Regions from separate parts of the Homo sapiens genome. Here regions 2, 3, 4 and 5 are each linked to region 1. Evidence: promoter capture Hi-C in 16 types of primary human blood cells and fetal thymus (Javierre and others, 2016). All regions are on one chromosome and are shown on one strand. Each heading gives the region's core, a stretch centred on a gene start or on the middle of the fragment in contact. The rest is flanking DNA. Distances are from core to core; before and after follow the strand shown.

The links. Contacts are between HindIII fragments. The CHiCAGO score rates a contact against its expected background, and 5 or more counts as called.
Region 2: a contact is called between a fragment that was not itself captured here and the fragment with the promoter of CEP89 in region 1, in 1 of 17 cell types (naive CD4 T cells). The highest score is 5.0, in naive CD4 T cells.
Region 3: a fragment that was not itself captured here is called in contact with the fragment with the promoter of CEP89 in region 1 in 1 of 17 cell types (non-activated CD4 T cells); the score reaches 5.1 in non-activated CD4 T cells.
Region 4: a contact is called between a fragment that was not itself captured here and the fragment with the promoter of CEP89 in region 1, in 1 of 17 cell types (naive CD4 T cells). The highest score is 5.1, in naive CD4 T cells.
Region 5: a contact is called between a fragment that was not itself captured here and the fragment with the promoter of CEP89 in region 1, in 1 of 17 cell types (naive CD8 T cells). The highest score is 6.7, in naive CD8 T cells.

The regions. Positions count from the first base shown.
Region 1 is chr19:32,970,654-32,974,887 of GRCh38, reverse strand. It overlaps CEP89 (centrosomal protein 89), which reads left to right and starts at 2,930. Exons shown (of 19, transcript NM_032816.5): 1 at 2,930-3,052. The coding sequence starts at 3,014. FAAP24 (FA core complex associated protein 24) reads right to left here and starts at 2,646. Exons shown (of 5, transcript NM_152266.5): 1 at 2,542-2,646; 2 at 1,586-1,704; 3 at 1,326-1,462; 4 at 676-828. The coding sequence starts at 1,691. RefSeq lists enhancers at 2,473-2,522, 2,903-3,122 and a silencer at 2,663-2,792. The HindIII fragment of the contact is 6,189 bases long and covers 1,499-4,234 here.
Region 2 is chr19:32,758,717-32,763,010 of GRCh38, reverse strand. All of the region lies in intron 8 of TDRD12 (tudor domain containing 12), which reads right to left. Among named protein-coding and RNA genes, the nearest start is that of TDRD12, 41 kb to the right of the region's middle. The HindIII fragment of the contact is 6,121 bases long and covers 1-4,294 here.
Region 3 is chr19:32,775,784-32,780,187 of GRCh38, reverse strand. TDRD12 (tudor domain containing 12) reads right to left here. Exons shown (of 33, transcript NM_001366102.1): 11 at 2,959-3,039. Among named protein-coding and RNA genes, the nearest start is that of TDRD12, 58 kb to the right of the region's middle. RefSeq lists enhancers at 1-803, 2,593-2,642. The HindIII fragment of the contact is 861 bases long and covers 1,904-2,764 here.
Region 4 is chr19:32,794,367-32,798,565 of GRCh38, reverse strand. It overlaps TDRD12 (tudor domain containing 12), which reads right to left. Exons shown (of 33, transcript NM_001366102.1): 14 at 3,753-3,938; 15 at 675-831; 16 at 131-258. Among named protein-coding and RNA genes, the nearest start is that of SLC7A9, 73 kb to the left of the region's middle. The HindIII fragment of the contact is 4,226 bases long and covers 690-4,199 here.
Region 5 is chr19:32,734,273-32,738,657 of GRCh38, reverse strand. The region is part of intron 2 of TDRD12 (tudor domain containing 12); the gene reads right to left. Among named protein-coding and RNA genes, the nearest start is that of TDRD12, 17 kb to the right of the region's middle. The HindIII fragment of the contact is 201 bases long and covers 2,448-2,648 here.

The sequences.
Region 1 (4,234 bases), core at 1,681-4,180:
AAGGGAAAAAAAAAAAACTTGCACAAGGTGCTGATGCTTAACAAAAATACGGGATGAGACAAAGCAGCTTCTAGTTAACATTTTCTTTCTTTCTTTCTTTTTTTGAGACAAAGTTTCGCTCCTGTTGCTCAGGCTGGAGTGCAATGGAGCATCTCCACTCACTGCAACCTCCACCTCCTCAGTTCAGGTGATTCTCCTGCCTCAGCCTCCGGAGTAGCTGGGATTACATGCACCCACCACCACGCCCAGCTAATTTTTGTATTTTTAGTAGAGACAGGGTTTTGCCATGTTGGCCAGGCTGGTCTCGAACTGCTGGCCTCAAGTGATCCTCCCGCCTCCGCCTCCCAAAGTGCTGGGATTACAAGCATGAGCCATCACGCCTGGCCTCTAGGTTGACGTTTTCACCAGCGAAAGGGCAGGATAATGACTGATGGAGCCATCACACCCTGAGAATCTAAAATCAGGTCTCCAACTTGTATACTTTGTGATACACTTGCCTGGAGTGTGTGACAAGCTGAGCTGGCTGCAGAGGCAGCTTCCGCATTTAAATTCCTCGAAGAGATTTTATAAACCAAGTCAGAGAATGACATAGATTGGATTGATGGTTGCTTCTGGAGAGCAGCTGAGTGTCCATGAGGACAGGACTACCACGAAGGTGTAGGAATCGGTACTCACCAACTGGATGACGAGGCAGGATGCTTCCATCTGGCTGGCCACTGGAAGCAGCACCATTCCAAGGTCCAGCACAGTAAACTTCTGTAGGGCTGGGAAGTATTGTTCACTCATCCGGGTTTTTTCAACGACTACAATTCCTTTAAGATTATTGGACTTGAAAGGAAAAAAGACAGTAAGTCATTTTGCAACCAAATTGCTTTTCAGGTTAAGAATGCTATCACTTCGTGCCTGACCTGGCCAATGATTTTAAATAAATGATACCAAGGGATGGAGGGAAGGGTGGGGTGAGACAAATCAATGTTCGAGTTTCTTTAATCCAATGCTTACATTTCTTTTTTGTTTTTGTTTTTTGTTTTTTGAGTTGGAATCTCACTCTGTCGCCCAGGCTGGAGTGCAGTGGCGTGATCTCGGCTCACTACAGCCTCTGCCTCCCAGGCTCAAGCAATTCTCCCGTCTCAGCCTCCCTAGTAGCTGGGATTACAGGCGTGCGCCACCATACTCAGCTAATTTTTGTATTTTTAGCAGAGACAGGGTTTCACCATGTTGGCCAGGCTGGTCTCCAACTACTGACCTCAGGTGATCCACCCGCCTTGGCCTCCCAAAGTGCTGGGATTACTGGCGTGAGCCACAGCACCCAGCCTAATACTTACATTTCTAACCCGAACAAGCCTCTTTCTGTAGCCATTTCCTGCCACCAAATCAGCTTCGGTGACATAAAGAATGCAGCATCTGTTCGACAGATAAAAGTCTGGTGTCAAGCCATCCTCGAAAATGAGCTTAATTTTCCCTTAAAATACAGAGAAGAAAATGAGTTCCATAAGCTTTGGATGAAAAGATGGCAATAATAGGCAGATTTTTTTTTTTTAATATGTCAGGGGAGGAAAGGGCTGGCAGAGGGCAGGCCACCGACCTTGCATCTCCTGCGCCAGCTGTGACCCGCGCCATTTCTCATTGGCCACAATATGCCCCAAAGGCACGTGCACGGGGCCCGTATCATCAGGGGGGTTCTTTTCCATGGATGGTCTCCACCTAAGGAGGGAAAAGCCAGGCGGCACTTGAGCAGGCTCTCCTGCACACGGCCCTGCATTCCACTCCAAGCCAGGGCCTCTGGGGCAGGATCCCCTCTGCAAACTGAATTATTTGTCAAAGAACTGTCAAATAAGATTCCCTTTATAATTACTAATAAGAAAACACAGGCTGGGCGCGGTGGCTCACACCTGTAATCCCAGCACTTTGGGAGGCCGAGCGAGGCGGGTGGATCACAAGGTCAGGAGTTCAAGACCAGCCTGGCCAAGATAGTGAAACCGCGTCTCTACTAAAAATACAAAAAAATTAGCCGGGCTTGGTGGTGGGCACCTGTAATCCCAGCCACTTGGGAGGCTGAGGCAGAGAATTGCTTGAATCCGGAAGGCGGAGGTTGCAGTGAGCCGAGATCGCGCCACTGCACTCCAGCCTGGGCGACAGAGCAAGACTCGTCTCAAAAAAAAAAAAAAAAAAGAAAAGAAAAAGAAAACACAAAGGCCTGAATGAAGGCCAGGGTGGCTGGAGACGGGATGTGTGGTGGTGGAGGTGGTAATGGCATTGGATTCCAATAAGGCCAGAGGCACGATCAGATTTAAGTTTTAAAAGAATCCTGGGCTGGGCATGGTAGCTCACGTCTGTAATCCCAACATTGGGCAAGGCTGAGGCGTGAGGATCGCTTGTGCCCAGGAGTTCGAGACCAGCCTGAGCAATACAGCGAGATCCCGTTTGCCAATTATTTGTGGCGAAATAAATTCTCTAAGAACCAGGAGATTCCTGTCCTGGTGTCCGCGTCCTTCATTTTCATCACGTGCCTAGCCCCTGATACCCCAGCTGGATCCGCACCGTAGCTTCTCAGTCCAGTCCAAGGCCCGAATACAGCCGGCAGGAACCCCACCGTCCCAGTCTAGAGATCATGTTACTGGTGGCCGCGCCACCTTCCGGGTTCACGCCCTCGGTGCTCGCCCAGTCCTTCATCCAGCCCGCCCTCCGCCTCCCGCAGCGCCGGATAGGCTGTGGCGTCAGAAATGGACGTCTAACCTGACCAATAAGAGAACGGATAAGGGCGGACGTTTCCGCCCTGGCGGGGATTTGAACGGTACCCACTGGTTGCCAAGAACGACCGGTGTGGAAGTAACCTTAGCTCTGATTGGTCGAGGGCCGAGCTGAGCCAATGGCCGACGTGGTTGCTGCAAAGTCCATTGCGAAGAGAAAGCGTGAGGGCTGGGCCTGCGGCGGGCTTTAGGGAGTGGTCCCTGGCTGTGGATAGATCTGCTGATGAGTCCAGGCCCCGGTCCATTCTCCTCGCGCTGCAAGGATGCTCCTGGGATTTCGGAGAGGCCGCAGGAGTCATTTCGTAAGTAGATGCTCGCCCGCCGCGCGTGGGGCTCTGTGGGGCCGGGAATTAGGGGTAAAGTGTTGGGGCGGGTTGGGGTTTGGCCTGAGATCCAGTCAAGGGGGCGGCACAAGAGAAAGTGGTTTTCAGTTGAGGAAGCCTTGATTTTTCGTGTTCTAAACTTTTTTTTTTTTTTTTAAGAAACAGGGTCTCGCTCTGTCGCCCAGGCTAGAGTGCAGTGGTGCGATCATAGCTCACTGCATCCTCGAACTCCTGGGCTCAAGCGATCTTCCCACCCCAGCCTCCCGAGGAGCTGAGACTACAGGCGCGCGCCACTACTCCCGGCTAATTGTTCAATATTTTTGTGGAAACAGGGATCTTGCTATGTTCCTATGGTGGTCTTGAGCTCCTTAGCCTCCTAAAGTGTTGGTATCACAGGCGTGAGCCACTGTGCCCGGCGTTAACAATCTTCTGCCCCAGGGTCGGCCACAGTTGGACAGGAGCACCCTGCCTCCCCTGTAGCATTCGTCCCCGTGCCCGGAGTTAACTCCTGGACGACGTACACCTGCTGCACTGCTGGATATAGCCATTCTTCATTTTTCCCTCCTCCACCCACCATGTACACCCCATCAGCAAGTCCCATCCGATATACCCACTACATACATCTGCCAGCTGTTCCCATCTCCACCCACACCCCGGCCTCCAGCATCTGTCTGGACTGCTGCGGCAGATCCTCACTGGTTTCTCTGCTTCCACTCTCGCCCTTCCCCTAGGTCCATTCTCCACGTAGCAGCCAAGGGGATTCTTATATTTATTTATTATTTAATTTAGTTTTAGAGACAGGGTCTTGTCCTGATGCCCAGGCTGGAGTACAGTGGCATGATCATAGCTCACTGTGGCTTCAACCTCTTGGGTTCAAGTGATCCTCCTGCCTCAGGCTCCTGAGTAGCTGGGACTACAGGTGTGCACCACCACACCTAGGTATTTTTTATTTATTTTATTTTTTGCCTCACACTCTGCCAAGTCTCAATGCCTGGCTAATTTTAAAAATTATTTTGTAGAGGCCACGTGAGGTGGCTCTCACCTGTAATCCAGCACTTTGGGAGGCTGAGGCAGGCGGATCATTTGAGGTCAGGAGTTCAAGATTAGCCTGGCCAACATGGTGAAAACCCATCTCTACTAAAAATACAAAAATTAGCGGGC
Region 2 (4,294 bases), core at 831-3,330, 210 kb after region 1:
AATTGGTTTAGATAACACAAATAGTTACCATTGTGTTACAGCTGCCTACAGCATTCAATACAGTAACATACTGTACAGGTTTGTGGCCTAGGAGCCATAGGCTATACCATATTGCCTATATGTGTAGTAGGCTGCACCATGTAGGTTGGGTAAGTACACCCTATGATGTTTGCACACCAAAATCACCTAATGACGTGTTTCTCAGAACATAGTCCATCAGTAAGCAACACATGACTGTATATAAATAATCACTTTAAACCCAATGGTCCTGTGAAAGTTAATTATACAAACTAGGTCATTCTTTCATCTCCAACTAAATCAGAGTCGAGGGGCCAGAGGAAAAGTACTCGAGGCACAGAGCACCTTCTTGGCCCCGCTGTTGAGGTGCACTGCTAGAATCCCAACACCAGTTTTACCTGGTAGCTACTGAAATAACCTGCCATGACTTTAAGACTAGTTTTTCCTACCGCCATTACCTACCAATCAGAGCTTGCCAGCTCCCAAAAACTTCTCTAGCGTCAATGAGCTTCCTTTCAAAACAATATGTAAGATTTCTCTAATAAAACTCCCAACCTTCTCTTTTCAACAAATGGTGCTGGAACAACTCAACATCCACATGCAGAAAAGTGACTCTAGGCACAGACCTTACACCCTTCACAAAAATCAACTCAAATGGATCTAAATGAAAAATGCAAAATACAAAACTCCTAGAAAATAACATAGGAGAAAACCTAGATGACCCTGAGTATGGCAATGGCTTTTTAGAGACAACACCAAAGGCACAATCCATGAAAGAAGCAACTGATCAGCTGGACTTCATTAAAACTAAACATTTCTGCTCTGTGAAAGATATTGTCAAGAGAATGAGAGACAAGCCACACACTAGGAGGAAATGTTTGCAAAGGACACATGTAAAAAAAGGATTGTTATCCAAAATGTACAAAGGACTCCTAAAACTCAACACTAAGAGGACAAAAAAGTCAATTTAAAATAGCCAAATCCTTGCCGGACATGGTGGGTGGCTCATGCCTGTAATCCCCGCACTTTGGGAGGCCGAGGCAGTCGGATCATTTGAGGTGGGTGGATCACTTGAGCTCATGAGTTCAAGACCAGCCTGGCCAACATGGTGAAACCCCGTCTCTACTAAAAATACAAAAATTAGCCAGGCATGGTGGCGGGCACCTGTAATCCCAGCTACTCGCGGGGCTCAGGCAGGAGGCTTGAACCTGGGAGGCAGAGGTTGCCATGAGCTGAGATCACACCACTGCACTCCAGCCTAGGTGACAGCACAAGACTCCATCTCTAAATAAATAAATAAATAAATAAGGAACTCCTGAAGAGATATCTCATCTGAGAAGATATACCAACAGCAAATAAGCATATGAAAAGATGCTCACATCCTACGTCATTAGAGAAATGCAAATTAAAATAATGATATTCCACTACACCCCTATTAGAATGACCAAAATCCAGAACACATTCTACAAAATAATAGGTCTGTAATCTTCCAAAGTGCAAGGTCATGAAAATCAAGGAGACCCAGGAAATGTTCCAGAGGAAAGACTAAAGAAATGTGTTCTCGGCCAGGCGCAGTAGCTCATGCCTGTAATCCCAGCACTTTGGGAGGCCGAGGCGGGCGGATCACGAGGTCAGGAGATCGAGACCATCCTGGCTAACACGGTGAAACCCCGTCTCTACTAAAAATACAAAAAATAAAAAAATAAAAAATTAGCTGGGCTTGGTGGCGGGCGCCTGTAGTCCCAGCTACTTGGGAGGCTGAGGCAGGAGAATAGTGTGAACCTGGGAGGTGGAGCTTGCAGTGAGCTGAGATGTGCCACTGCACTCCAGCCTGGGAGACAGAGTGAGACTCCGTCTCAAAAACTAAACAAAACAAAAACAAGAAACGTCTTCTCTAAATGCAACAAGTGATGCTGAACGACGTCTCTTTGATAACCAGCAAAACCTGAATGGTGCCTGGGAGTTATATGATCACAATATATCAGTGTTAATCTTCACACTCTGATGATTGCATTGTGGATATTTTTGAGAATGTCCTTCTTTCTAGGAAAAACTCAAGTATTGGGGAATCAGGTTAGCAACTTATTCTCAAATGGTTTGGGAAAAAAGTTCTTTGTAATACTCTCCAACTTTTCTGTAAGTTTGTGATTATTGTAAAATAAAAAATTTATTGAGAAGATGGATGTAAACTCTATGGAAGCACAGACTTTGTTTCCCTCCTAAGAATCCCTAGAAAAGCACCTGACAGTGAGGGCGTCATAAATATCTGATGAATGAATGAATGTGGGTTAGGGGCACGAGAGTGAATCTCCCTAGAAATCAAGACAATGTCTAAAGTGAAGAAGCCTAGTAATAGTAAAATATACACAATTATTTTAAAATCTGGAGATAATACCAAAATAAACAACTTTAAAAAGTGAGTTTATCTCTAGGGGACATCCTGGGGTAAGAAGAGGTTGCAAATAAAAAAATTATTTTTCACTGTAGCCCTTCTGTAATATGTGATTGTTTAATCAAGTATTAGCAAATCAAGTATTAGCCAAGTATTATACTTTGATTCTCAAAAATATTAGGCAACTTCAAAGAGAAACACCAAAAACTAACTGAAATATAACTGAAGTACCTTCTCACAATAATTAAAGGAAAGGGAAATCTATACTTAGAAAAGTAACATCTAATAATTCTGCTTTTTACATGCCAATTCAGTTACACCTCACATTATCTTTTTTGTTATTGTTCACCATAACCTTTTCCTTTTCAAAGATAAGCATAGTTCATTCCAGTACTGATTGTAATAAGCAGGAAACAATTTCTGCCCAGCAAGCTGGGACTCCTGAAAATAATTTTGACATATCAAGCAATGGAAAGCCACGCAATAATTAAACACGATGATGTAGTGCCTGGTATTTTTATTCCTCCAATGGAAAAAGAATATAAATGGAAAGAATACATGCCCATCAACAACAGGTGCTACCTTCTGCTGTAATTCTCACCTGGGGACCCCCTACAAGAGGCATATCAGAATCTGGGGCAGGGGCCACATGCGCTGAGGCTGCCACAGGCCAGGCGCTGAGCCAAGCACGCTGCACGATGGCCCATTCAGTAACTCCCAGGGGGATGGGGATGACATCCCATGTCCCAGAGAAGGAAGCGGCCTGACACCCTGGCAGTCTCACATCAGAGTTTATGTCCTTAAACACATTATACCGGATATATTTGACCTAGAAAGGGAATTCAGCCATATACTAAGTAAAATACATTACAAAGAGGTATGTATAGTAGGACCCCATTTCTGTGAAATAAAAATTTTATAAATACCGTCTGGAAAACTTTGGAAAGAAAGGCTCTATAATATTTTATTTTATTGTGTTTATTTTTCAGCCGGAGTCTCACTCGCCCAGGCTGGAGTGCAGTGGCACAATCTTGGTTCACTGAAACCTCTGCCTCCTGGGTTCAAGTGATTCTCCTGCCGCAGCCTCCTTTGAGGCCAGGAGGTTGAGGCTGCAGTGAGCTGTGATCACACTACTGCAATCAAGCCTGGGCAACCGAGCAAGACCCCGTCTCAAAAAAAAAAAAAATTCCCAGACTGAGACATGCTAGAACTCCAGGGGCCTTCTAGTCTACCCCTACCTCCCCTCCGTGTACATATGGGCAGTTGCAGGCTCTTGGAAGGTCGAGGCTCCCACCAAGCCAGTGGTAGACCCAGGATTAGAACACATGTCTCCTGGCTTCTAGCCCCGAGCCTGTTCTCTCTACACTGTGTTGCCACCCTTACCTTCAATGCAAAAGAGTCTACAGGGTTCACTCCTCCTTTTTACATCCTAGTTTCTCATTTCATCATGCAGCAAATAAGTTCTTGAGTAGCTGGGACTACAGGCACACGCCACCATGCCTGGCTAATTTTTGTATTTTTAGTAGAGACGGGGTTTCACCATGTTGGCCAGGCTGGTCTCAAACTCCTGATCTCAGGTGATCCACCTGTGTCGGTCTCCCAAAGTGCTAGGATTACAGGCATGAGCCACCGTGCCCAGCCTACAATTTTATTTTATTTTGTTTTCTGAGACAGAGTCTCACTCTGTCATCCAGGCTGGAGTGCAATGACATAATCTTGGCTCACTGCAACCTCCACCTCCCAGTTCAAGCAATTCTCCTGCCTCAGCCTCCCGAGTAGCTGGGACTACAGGCATGTGCAACCACATCCAGCTAATTTTTGTAGTTTTAGCAGAGACGGGGTTTCACCATATTGGCCAGGCTGGTCTTGAACTGCCAGCATCAA
Region 3 (4,404 bases), core at 1,085-3,584, 190 kb after region 1:
CGCTTGAACCCGAGAGGCGGAGGTTGCAGCAAGGCGAGATTGTACCGCTGCACTCAAGCCTGGGCTACAGAGCGAGACTCTGTCTCAAAAAAAAAAAAAAAAAGAAAAGAAAAAAAGAATGGGCATATTCGGAGAATTTTCCATCTTCAATCAGTGGGCAGTACAAAGTAGGCTGATGTTAAAATGTTTAAAGGAAGACAACAGAAGAATAAAGAATGAATATCACAGTAGGCAAGAGGGACACAGAAGAAGGAAAGACAAAGAACTGCAGAGAGAGCTCCAGGGTACATTAAATATCAGAGATGACGTGAGTGGCAAGCAGGTACCACTCCACCCTCCTATGCTCAGGACATCTTAACCAGTTATGAAAGTACTCCCCGCAGCACATATGGCTGCATTGTCAAAGTCCAAAAGCCTCCTGAAAATAATGCTGCGAGGGTCAACACACAGAGTTGAGACTCACCCACCACCTAGCATATTTCCACGGGCTGGGCGGAAGCTGGCACCAGCTTAGAAACACGATCTCAGCCCAATCCAGGCTGCCTTGCCACCTCCAGAAGCCCTTAGCAAAACAGAGCAGTTTCTCTTGAACACCCAAAAATTAAGAGAGAGAATTTCACTAGGAGAGCCCTTAAACCTGGGTGTGGGCCCCGCCACTTCCTCTGCTACCCAAGTATCCAGGATTCCCAAGGGGATCCTGGTGGTATGTGATCCTGGAATGGGAAAGACTGCATCTGGGGTGACCTCTTCCAGAATGTACTGTAACTTGGGGGTTTCCAAATGAGTTATATGAAGGAACAGGCCCGAGGAGAAAGAAATACAACCGCTTACTGGTACTTACAGGCTTGAGCAACTCCATCAGCGAGACAAAAAGACAGGAAAAGAAAACCACAGGTGTCACACAGAGGAGGCTAGTGGGACACCTGGCCCCTGGCAATGAGCCAAGGTCCCTGTGCCCCTCTGCCCACATTGTGACAGTCGTTATCATAGTCCCAAGTGAGGTTTGGGGATGCGGCAATGCGGGTCTCTGACTGGCCATCCTTAAGGAAAGGGTGCCTCTCCTCCAGGCTGCCTTGGCTATCTCGCCAGAAATGACAGCACAGGGTTCCCCAGGCTTTGGACGCAGTGCAGCCAATGCTGGACCTCTGCGCAGTCAAGGGGGAGGGTCCCAGGATCACCAGGTCATCCCTGTGTCCCTAAGGAACTCAAAGCCTTCTTTGATGTTTAATCCTGAATTACCTCAAAGTTCCCTGAAACCCACAGGAGACTGACAGGATAACTGATGTTGTTTAATCAGTGGGTTCTAAGTAAAGGGCATTTTAACAGAACAGGAGACAAGACAGAACTTTTTAATACGAAAATAAAAGGGAATAGAATGTTCCAGGGTCATCCGGGCACAGTGGCTCACTCCTGTAATCCTAGCACTTTGGGAAGCCAAGGTGGGCGGATCACCTGAGGTCATGAGTTCGAGACCAGCCTGGCCAACATGGCAAAACCCCATCTCTACTAAAAATACAAAAATTAGCTGGACGTGGTGGCAGGCGCCTGTAATTCCAGCTACTCAGGAGGCTGAGGCAGGAGAATTGCTTGAACCCAGGAGGTGGAGGTTGCAGTGAGCCAAGATCATGTCATTGCACTCTATCCTGGGTGACAGAGCAAGATTCCGTCTCCAATTAAAAAATAAATAAATAAATAATGAAAAAAAGAATATTCCAGGGTTAATTTGCCAGGTTATAATTGAAAATAATAAAAGAAAGAAATAAGCTGTATGGCCTTCTGTTCCAAGGAAAATAACGACTGTGACAGCAAAACCTTTGGGTATTAGGGCTGAGGTTGCCCTGGGAGGGGGGTGTCAGTTAGGTGCATCAACAGCCATCCCCAACTCTGTGGGCTCGTGGAAGCTTTCAAAGCCTCACCCTTGAAATCCTGGGTGGTGTCCTGTGGGGTAAGAAGCCCTGGCAGGTCATCAGCATGGCCTCTGGGAAGCTGGGAAGCCCACATGGCTGCAGAGTCCACACCCTGGCTCCAACCCCCAAGGCCAACCAGTGGAAACAGCAGGACCTCCCCACCTCTGACCTGTCTCACACTTTGTCACTCTGGGAGCTCCAGGGCAGCTACAGTTACTTGGAATGTAAAACTGTTGAGGCCAATATGGTAAAAAGTATAAAAATGGCATGAGGCTGGAAGCTGTGGTCATGCCTGCAATCCCAGCACTCTGAAAGGCAGAGGTAGGAGAATCATTTGAGGCCAGGACTTTGAGACCAGCCTGGGTAACATAGCGAGACCCTCGTCCTACAAAAAAAAAAAAAAAAAAAAAAAAAAAAAAAAAATATATATATATATATATATATATATATATATATATATATATATATGTAAATCAGTTATGGTGGTGCATGCCTATGGTCCCAGCTACTTGGGAGGCTGAGGTGGGAGGATCGCTTGAGCCTAGGAGGTCGAAGCTGCAGTGAGCTGTGACTGCACCACTGCACTCCAGCCTAAATGACAGAGGAAGACCTTGTCTCAAAACGAAAATTGCTATGTAAATATTTTACAGATTACACAAGTATGAAATCAAGGCAAACTGCTCAGTTTCTCTAGCAGTGTTGCCTCAGAGAACTGGAAAGAAAGCAAAGACCAACCCAAAGAACATCAACAGCCCCAAAAGATCAACTGTATCTAATTTGATTTGTGACACTGTTCACTTCACCAAGAGAATCCAGAAGGCAAGGTAGAAAATGACTACTTACACTGGAACAAAGCTTTAAACAGAAAAATGTGCCCAAGTGGATGGAAAAGCAAAAATTAACCTCAAACCCTACAGGAGATATACTGTACATTTATTTTTTGATGGGAATGCAGGTTTGAAATTAATAATAAAATGTGTAGATTTCTCTTGTTTATAATTTTATTATAATTATTTCAATACACAATTCAGGCCAAGGAAAAAATTCTTACTTCACACAGCTATTCTTCTCATCATATTCTTTCTTCTCAGTCAATCTAAGAGGTTTCTCATTTGACTTCTGACTTAAAGCACTAGAAATGAAAAAAAAAAATTCATTAAAATTTGTGAACAGCAGCCTGGGCAACACAGTGAGTCCCCATCTCGACAAAAATAAAAAAATAAAAAATGCCGGGCATGGTGGTGTGCACCTATAGTCCCAGCAACTCGGGAGGCCAAGGTGGGAGGATCGCCTAAGCTCAAGAGTTGGACACTGCAGTGAGCTGTGATTGTGCCACCGCACTCCAGCCTGGGCAACAAGAGCAAGACCCTGTCTCTTAAAAAAATGAAAAATTGTGAACCCCTTTACCCCAATCCTGAAAATATCTTTATTTTCTGGATTAAAAATTTAAGAAGCACCACTGAGGAATTGGTTTATCTACATAAGCACATTTCTGTGAGAACTGGAGCTTAGTCCTTTAAGTATAAAAGTCATTTCTGACACTTCTGGTGGTGGTGCTGGACAGGATGGAGTAGGCCTGCCACAGCCTCTCTCTCCTGCTGATCACAACTAGAGATTCTGGATGAGGCCCCAACAGCAGGGGAGAGAAGTCAAACACTTGAAAAACAGAATCACCAGGACTTTCTTGTCTTTTTTCTCTCTGTGTCTCTGTGTTGACCTCAAGATGACTTTGTGGCAGGTGCAGACGCCAGAATCTCCAGGAGAGACTTCTTCCTTCAAGCCAGAGAAGCGGGAAGAGGCGCCCTTTAAACCAGAAAGTGTGGGGAATCCCCATTGTTTTTCTTTTCTTTCCTCACCGGGCCCCAAGGCCAGCTCTGATCTTGGGGCTGCACCCAGCAACAGCAACAGCAGTGTGGTGACCTTAAACCCTGAGAGAAAACCTGCACCTGAAGCCAGAGGAACTGGGAGATGGGAGCTGTGGTCCAAAGACTGCGTGAGGAAAATCTCCACCTTTTTTCTCCCTTACTTGTTTTATTCTCAAGGTATCCCAATTCCACATTACTGCACACCAATGTCTCCAAGAGAAACTATCTGGCCAGAGGAATACGGGGAAGGAGGCCCTAGAAATTGGTAACTGTGAGGGAAATTCTGAAAAGAAAGAGAGGTGGTTCATGACCCAACACAAGCCCCAACTCGCCCCAAGCTAAGCAGATGCAGAACAGGCCCCAGGCAGCATCGAGGGCCCAGAGCCTGAGCTCACACGGCCACCGCCACCCACAGTTCGCAAGGCAGAACATGAGGGCCGGACCTCATGGAGGTACCGACCTCCTGCTAAGACAAATGACACCAACCAACACTCTCTAGAGAATGTTAACAGAAACCAGAATCTCGCAACATAACATTCAAAATATCCAGAGTGAGTCCAAAGTTACTCAGCACACACGGGCCCAGGAAAACCAGATCGACTGCCAAGGGAAACGACAATCAGCAGGTGCCA
Region 4 (4,199 bases), core at 1,553-4,052, 180 kb after region 1:
GTTAAAGCATAAAATTTTTTTAGATTAACCAATGTATTCCCCAACCAGACACTTTTCCTCCTTCCTGCCATCAGTTAGCATGTTAATCACGCCTCTCTTCTGAGTGCTGAGGACCTTAAGCCACGCTCACCTGTTCATTGGCTTCCAAGAATAGCACCTCTACCTCATCCAGGATCAGGTGGCAGAGCCTGAGGAACAGCAGGCTCTGACAGGCGAGAAGCCTCAGCAGGCTGTATGGGGTCGTAACAATCACATCACCTGCATTTAAAAAAAAAAGTGAACATTTTCAATTTTCCACAGGTTTTTCTAAGATTTCCTCTGCTAAGAGTCCACATACTTTCTAGAAATGCCTTCTAATGAAGTAAAACACTGTTTCTGTCCTAGTCAACCCCATATGCCCAGCATCTAACAAACAGTTTAAGTGTTCAGTAAATAGATGATAAATGAATGAAGTGACATAGTTTTCTCAGTGAAGCAGACGTAAGTCAAGATCAAGCCTTCGTAATCAAAACCGTCGGGAGCTGACAAGTAGGTCTGGACTAGTGACTGTGAGTGTGTCATCACACAAGCCATGTCACTGTGGACCCAGGCCCAGCCAGGCTCCACTGTCTTCTGTAGGGAAGACAGTGAAAAGGATACTTTAACTTTTATAGCCGCTTGAAAAGGATACTTACAGCCCCTTGGAAGCTTTGTATTTTTGGCTTCCTCTTTATGGAGCCCAATTGTTAATAGCACAGGATGAAGAGGCCTGGAGGACATGCTATATTCTCCCAATAATTCAAAAATAAATTGGGCCTTCTTCCACCCAGGGCACACGATGACTGCGAGAGGCTGCGAAGACAGACAAATTCAAATGACTCCAGACAGTAGTTAGGAATTCAGCATCCATATGAAACATCAAGAACATCTCCTTGCACAGAAGCAGCACCCCGTAAGTTTCTGCTATAATCATCATACAGGTCAGAAAAGTGACGATATAATTTCATTAAAACAGATTTAGACACATTGAGTCATATTTGCTGAGTCTCAATGAAGCACTTCACACGTATGCATTCATTTAGCTCTTAAGATGCTCTTATGGGGCAGAGGCTGTCACTGCTTCACTTCAGAGGTGAGGAACTTGAGGTACAGAGAGGTGAAGTCAGTTACCCAAGGCTGCACAGCTAATACATGGTAGCAACAGGACTTGAACCCAGGCAGTCTGGCTCCACATCCCCTGCACAGATCCTAAGCACAAGAATGAACTAAATGCCTCCTGAAAGGGGCCTTAAAAAAGACGAACCCTGGCTGGGTGTAGTGGCTCACGCCTGTAATCCTAGCACTTTGGGAGGCTGAGTCAGGTGGATCACCCGAGGTCAGGAGTGTGAGACCAGCCTGACCAATATGGTGAAACCCCATCTCTACTAAAAATACAAAAATTAGCCAGGCGTGGTAGTGTGTGCCTGTAGTCCCAGCTACTCAGGAGGCTGAGACAGGAGAATTGCTTGAACCCGGGAGGCAGAGGTTGCAGTGAGCCGAGATGGAGCCACTGCACTCCAGCCTGGGTGACAGAGCGAGACTCCATCTCAAAAAAAAAAAAAAAAAGACGAACCTCTCTTCCTTAGGACACTATCTTCTGAACCCTGCCCTCTGCAAGCCGACAGGTAACTCCTGAAGCTGCACTGCCTGCCAGACACACACCCTCCAGTAACTGAAGACAAGCTGAGGCTCCTCTTTCATTCATACAGATCCAGGTGGGCCCAGCTTCCAGACACAGGCCTGAAAGCAGGCTGACCATGGAGGCGTGGAGAAAGCTGGGGGCCACAGGGACGAGACCTGGACATCCCCTTCTGCCCTGAGCCTGGGTTCGGCCTCAATATAAGCGACTTCTCATCAGTTGCTTCTCATTAGTCTGCTGCTAAGTAATTTGGGAGATAGAAACATATCCATTAATTTGACTAAATCAGCTGCTAATAACAGATGCAACTTTTTTTTTTTTTTGAGATGGAGTTTGGCTCTTCTTGCCCAGGCTGGAGTGCAATGGTGCGATCTTGCCTCACCGCAACCTCCGCCTCCCAGGTTCAAGCGATTCTCCTGCCTCAGCCTCTCGAGTAGCTGGAACTACAGGCGTGTGCCACCACGCCCAGCTAATTTTTGTATTTTTAGTAGAGACAGGGTTTCACCATGTTGGCCAGGATAGTCTCGATCTCGATCTCGTGATCCGCCTGCCTCGGCGTCCCAAAGTGCTGGATTACAGGCATGAGCCACTGCGCCCGGCCAACAGATGCAACTTTCTAAAGGGAAATCATAAAACTGCATGGCACGGTTAGAAAAATGAGCTAGTATTTTTCCTAACTGCAACCCTATGTCTTCTTACTGCTGTTTTTCACTGGTGGAGCCCCGTCTGGAGCACCCTCAGTGCCAGGCCCCGAGATGCAGGTTCCACACCCATCAGGCCCCTAACAGCCACAAACCAGCAGCACAGGGCCATGCCCTGCATCATTTACCTTCACACCGCTCCTCTCTTTCCCACCACCTCTTTCTCAGTGAAATGGTTTAGCTCTGCATCCCCACCCAAATCTCATGTTAAATGTAATCCCCAGTGTTGGAGGTGGGGGCTGGTGGGGGGTGATTGGCTCATGGGGGCAGTTTCTCATGAATGGGTTAGCACTGTCCTCTTGGTGCTGTTCTTCTGAGATCTAGTGTTTAAAGGTATGTGGCACCTCCCCTGCTCCTGCTCCTGCTCCAGCCATGTGTCACACTTGCTCCCCCTTAGACTTCTGCAATGATTGTGAGTTTCCTGAGGCTTCCGCAGAAGCCGAGCAGATGCCAGCATCATGCTTCCGCTCCAGCCTGCAGAACCATGAGCCAGTTAAGCCTCTCTTCTTTATAAATTACCCAGCCTCAGGTATTTATAGCAATGCTAGAACAGACTTAATACAGTTATTCTGAGGTTTTCCCACATGGGAAAAGTTAAGAAGGATTATGAAGCAGGGTGGGGAGCTAGGAAATGACTGGCAGAGCACGGGACAAGGCAGCAGAAGCTCAGACTTCAACCCCACTCCTAGCCCTGTCAGTGGGAAATTTACCCCAGTAACTCTTCCTGAGCCTCATTTTCTCCTCCGTGAAATGGTCAGAACAATGCCCATCTCATGCTGCTACTGTGATGGATAGATAGACTCAGGTCTGTGACAGCATTTTACACACTCGATATCCATTTTTTCTTTTTCTTTCTTTTTTTTTTTTTTTTTCTGAGATGGAGTTTTGCTCTTATTGTCCAGGCTGGAACACAATGGTATAATCTCGGCTCACTGCAACCTTCGCCTCCCAGGTTCAAGTGATTCTCCTGCCTCAGCCTCCCAAGTAGCTGGGATTACAGGCATGCCACCATGCCCACCTAATTTTTCTGTTTTTAGTAGAGACAGGGTTTCACCATGTTGGCCAGGCTGGTCTCGAACTCCTGACCTCAGATGATCCACTCGCCTCGGCCTCCCAAAGTGCTGGGATTACAGGCGTGAGCCACCGTGCCTGGCCTCCATATCCATTTCTAAAAGCCTCAGCCAATGGCCCACAACTATAGGCTCCAGGTGAGAATCAGTATGAGAGCATCAGTAATTGGAATGGGAAAGGACACTTTCCCACAGGACAGTTTCTGGCCTGGAAGTTTGAAAACCAAACTGAGTAATAGACGACCTTCCTCAAAGGTGAGGTGTATAATTTTAAAATAAATATTTAACCCATTTGGTTGTGAGGCAAAACTGTCTTTGACTTACTCCATTTCTACTTGGTAATGACTTGTAGCAGGCTCCTGTTTGCAAAACTGTCAACACTGGTAGGAGGTAGAGCAAAGGGTTGCTTTCACAGTGAGAAATGACAACCACATCACAGCCACGCGCTATGGGAGGCCAAGAGTAAGATTCAGTGTGGCTGGGGCCCGGAAACTTATTTCTTTGAAGAGCCTACAAAACAGAAACAACCAGAAACCAAAATAAGGTAGAGAAAACTAACAAAAACTCCATTGCATGGCTCATTTCACCCCAAAAAGCACTACACATTGCCAAACCCAGTATTTTCCAAGCCCTAACTTGTTAAGTTTCCCCAAATCTTTTCTCAGTACCAACCTCCTATTAAAAGACTGTTGCTTTTTCTCCTATTAAGACTCCCATTAAAAGATTCTTGCTAGGCAGGGCACGGTGGCTCATGCCTGTAATCCCAGCACT
Region 5 (4,385 bases), core at 1,299-3,798, 240 kb after region 1:
TATTTTAGTAGAGATGGGGTTTCACCATGTTGGATAAGCTGGTCTCAAACTCCTTACCTCATGATCCGCCCGCCTCAGCCTCCCAAAGTGCTGGGATTACAGGCGTGAGCCATCACGCCTGGCCAACAGAAAGGTTTTTTAAGGTCAGTGTTAACATTTCATCAAAGAACAAGAGAGGTAAAAGGTACTCTCAAAACCATCCCAGTCAACATTCTCCTTTACAGCAGAGGAAAGAGATGCCAGGAGGCCGGGCCTACCCAAGCTGAGCCACTCTGCCCATAAGAAAACCTCAGGAACACAGGCCGTCTGAGTACTAGGTCACTGTTTTTCTTACTACAATTGTTTCCACTCCTTAACTGAGGACAATTTTTAGAAAGTAAAATAAGAAAAATGCATTCATTTACCTTCTTAAATCAGGAAATAATGCTTAGGAATGATTGTCAATCATGTGTCTGACCAACAGGAAGCTGCCACCAGGCTCATCCTTCCACTCCCTTACCCATGACTCTTTATTTTTTTTGAGACGGAGTTTTGCTCTTGTTGCCCAGGCTGGAGTGCGATGGTGCGACCTTGGCTCACTGCAACCTCCACCTCCCGGGCTCAAGCGATTCTCCTGTCTCAGCCTCCCAAGTAGCTGGGATTACAGGCGCATGCCACCAGGCCCAGATAATTTTAAGAAATTTTTTTAGTAGAGACAGGATTTCATCATATTGGTCAGGATGGCCTCGAACTCCTGACCTCAGGTGATCCACCCGCCTCGGCCTCCCAAACTGCTGGGATTACAGGCGTGAGCCACCGCACCCAGCCTCCCCATGACTCTTATTGGCCTCTGACATTTGTTTACTATCTGTCATAACTGGACGCTGGCTCCTTGATGACATGGATTTTTGTCTGTTTTGTTTACTGCCAAATTCCCAGCACCTAGCAGTGCCTGGCATATACTAAGTCTTCAAAAACTACTTGAACCAGGCATGGTGGTACGTGCCTGTAGTCTCACCTACTTAGGAGGCTGAGGTGGGAGGATCGCTTGAACCCAGGAATTGGAGGCTGCAGTGGGCTATGATTGCACCACTGCACTCCAGCCTGGGTGACACAGTGAGACCCTGTCTCAAAAAAATAACAGTAATAAAATGTTTTAAAAATAAACTACCTGGGCCAGGCATGGTGGTTCACGCCTGTGGTCCCAGCACTTTGGGAGGTCGAGGTGAGTGGATCACCTGAGCTCAGGAGTTCAAGAGCAGCCTGACCAACATGGAAAAACCCCGTCTCTACTAAAAACACAAAAATCAGCCAGGGATGGTGGCATGTGCCTGTAGTCCCAGCTACTCAGGAGGCTGAGGCAGGAGGATCACTTGAGCCAGGGAGGCAGAGGTTGCAGTGAGCCAAAGATCGCGCCACTACACTCCAGCCTGGGCGACAGAATGAGAGTTTGTCTCAATCAATCAATAAACTGCCTGTTTGATGGCTGAATAAGTGCACAGTCCCTGACTTATGATGGTTTAACTTACAATTTTCAACATTATGATGGTGTGAAACTATTGCAATTTTTACATAATGTGCAGTATTCAATAAAATACATAAATATTTAAACTTTACTACAAAATAGGCTTTGTATTAGGTGATCTTGCCCAACCATAAGCTAATGTTAAGTGTCCTGAGCAAATTTAAGTAGGCTAGGGTAAGCTAGGCTGGTCAGCAGGTTAGGTGTACTAAGCCCATTTTTTACCTACAATTATCAGGACATAACCTCATCGTAAGTTAAGAAGCATCTGTAAATGCCTGCAGCCCCTTTTAAGGAGAACCACCCTGCAGAGGTGACAACCCTTGGCATCCTGACTGTACCACAGGACTGCCAGGCCACAGCCAACTCAACTAATAAACCGTATGCTAACCACAGGTTTATAAAGCAGTCCAGCAGGAGAGCTGCGCTCAGACAGAAAGGAAGGGGACTGATAGAGATTGCTGTCCTTGGGAATAAGTTGGAAAATACAGTACAGCCATACTGCAAGGCACAGGTTCTAGAGAACCTCACATAACTCAAAACTCGAATAATTCAACAGAAATCCTGACAAAGGATGAAGGGTATTTCTATTTAATGCTGAAGTCAAAGCATCTTGTAGAAATACCATGAATAGTTAATAATTCACACAGCCAGCCAACCTTCAAAATGAGGCATGAAAGCCACATTCATCTCATATATCTCCATGAGAGCTCTTCAGTGACCAGGTGCACTGTCAATGAGCACTAATTGTTTGTTGTTTTTTGTTTTAGAGACAGGGTCTCATCACTACATTGCCTAGGCTGGACTCAAACTCCTGGGCCCAAGTGATCTTCCTGCTTCAGCCTCCCAAGTAGCTGGGACTGTGGACACGTGCCACCATACCCAGCTCAGCAGTAATATTTTGAAAGGAATCTTTTTTTCTGAGCATAGATCTCAACAGTAAGCTTAAAATATTCAGTAAGCCATGCGTGAACAGATGTGCTGTCATTCAGGCTTTCTTGTTCCATTCGTAGAGCAGATAGAGTAGAGCTAGCATAATCTTTAAGGGTCACAGGACTTTTGGAATGGTAAATGAGTACTGGCTTCAACTTAAAAGTCACCAGCTGCATTAGCCCCTAAAAAGAAAGCCACTCTGACCTTTAAAGCTTTAGTCCTTTAAAGACACCGACTTCTCCTATTTATTTTTTAAGATGGAGTCTCTCTCTGTCACCCAGGCTGGAGTGCAGTGGTGCCATCTCAGCTCACTGCAGCCTCCACCTCCCGGGTTCAAGCAATTCTCCTGCCTCAGCCTCCCCAGTAGCTGGGATTACAGGTGTCCGCCACCACACCTGGCTAATTTTTGTATTTTTAGTAGAGACAGGGTTTCACCATGTTGGCCAGGCTGGTCTCGAACTCCTGACCTTAGGTGATCCACCCACCTCAGCCTCCCAGAGTGCTGGGATTACAGGTGTGAGCCACCACACCTGGCTGACTTCTCCTATTTAGCTCTGGAAGTCCTAGAAGACATCTTCTCCAATAGAAGGCTGTCTTGTATACATTGAAAACCTCTTATTTAGTGTGTCCACTTTCAACAATGATCATAGCTACATCTGGAGAAACTGCTGCAGCCTCTCCATCAGCCCTTGTGCTTCACCTTGCACTTTATGTTGTGGAGATGGCCTCTTTTCTTAAACCTCATGAACCAACCTCCGCTAGCTTCACATTTTTTCCCTGCAGCTTCCTAACCTTGCTCAGCCTTTATACAATTGAAGAGAGTTAGGGCCTTGCTCTGGATCAGGCTTTGGCTGAAGGGAATGTAGTAACTGGTTCTAAGCCTCTATCCTGACCAATAAAACTTTCTCCATATTACCAATAAGGCTGCTTCTTTTTTCATTTTTTTTTTCATTTGTGTGTTCTCCAGAGTGGCACTTTTAATTTCCTTCAAGAACTTTTCCTTTGCATTCACAACTTTGCTAACTGTTTGGTGCAAGAGGCCTAGCTTTCAGCCTATCTCAGCTTTCAAAATGTCTTCCTCTAAGTTCAATCATTTCTAGCTTTTAATTTAATGTGATTCATCCTTTCACTTGAACACTTAGGGGCCATTGTAGGGTTATTAATTGGCCTAATTTCAATTGTGTGTCAGTGAACAGGAAGGCCTGGGGAGAGGGAGAGAGATGGTGGAGCAGTCAGAACACACATTTATTGATAAAATTCACTATCTTACATGGGTGCAATTCGTGGCACCCCAAAACAATTAAAATACTAACCTCAAAGATCACTGGCCACAGATCACTATAACAGATAGAATAATAACAAAAAAGTTCGAAACACTGGGAGAATTACCAAGATGTGACACAGAGACATGAAGTGAGGACCTGCTGTGGGAAAAATGGTGCCTATAGTCTTGCTCCATGAAGGGTTGCCATAAACCTTCAATTTGTAAAAAAACATAGTTACTGCGAATTCACAATAAAATGAGGTCTGTTTGTACTTAAAAGTGTAAAGGGCCAGGCGCAGTGATTCATGCCTGTAATCCCAGCGTTTTGGGAGGCCAAGGCGGGCAGATCTCTTGAGCCCAGGAGTTCGTGACCAGCCTGGGCAACATGGCGAAACCCTGTCACCACAAAAAATACAAAAAAATTAGCCAGGTGTGGTGGTGCATGCCTTTAGTCCTAGCCACTTGGGAGGCTGAGGTGGGAGGATTGCTCGATACCAAAAGGCGGAGGTTGCAGTGAGCCGAGATAGAGTCACTGCACTCCAGCCTGGGTGACAGAGTGAGACCCCCATCTTCAAAAAAAAAAAAGAAAAGAAAAGAAAAGGAGGAGGAGGAGAGAAAAACAAAACCACCCTCTCGACACCAAAAATGTGATAACTAGGCACAAAGCACTAAGTTGAAAACTGATCC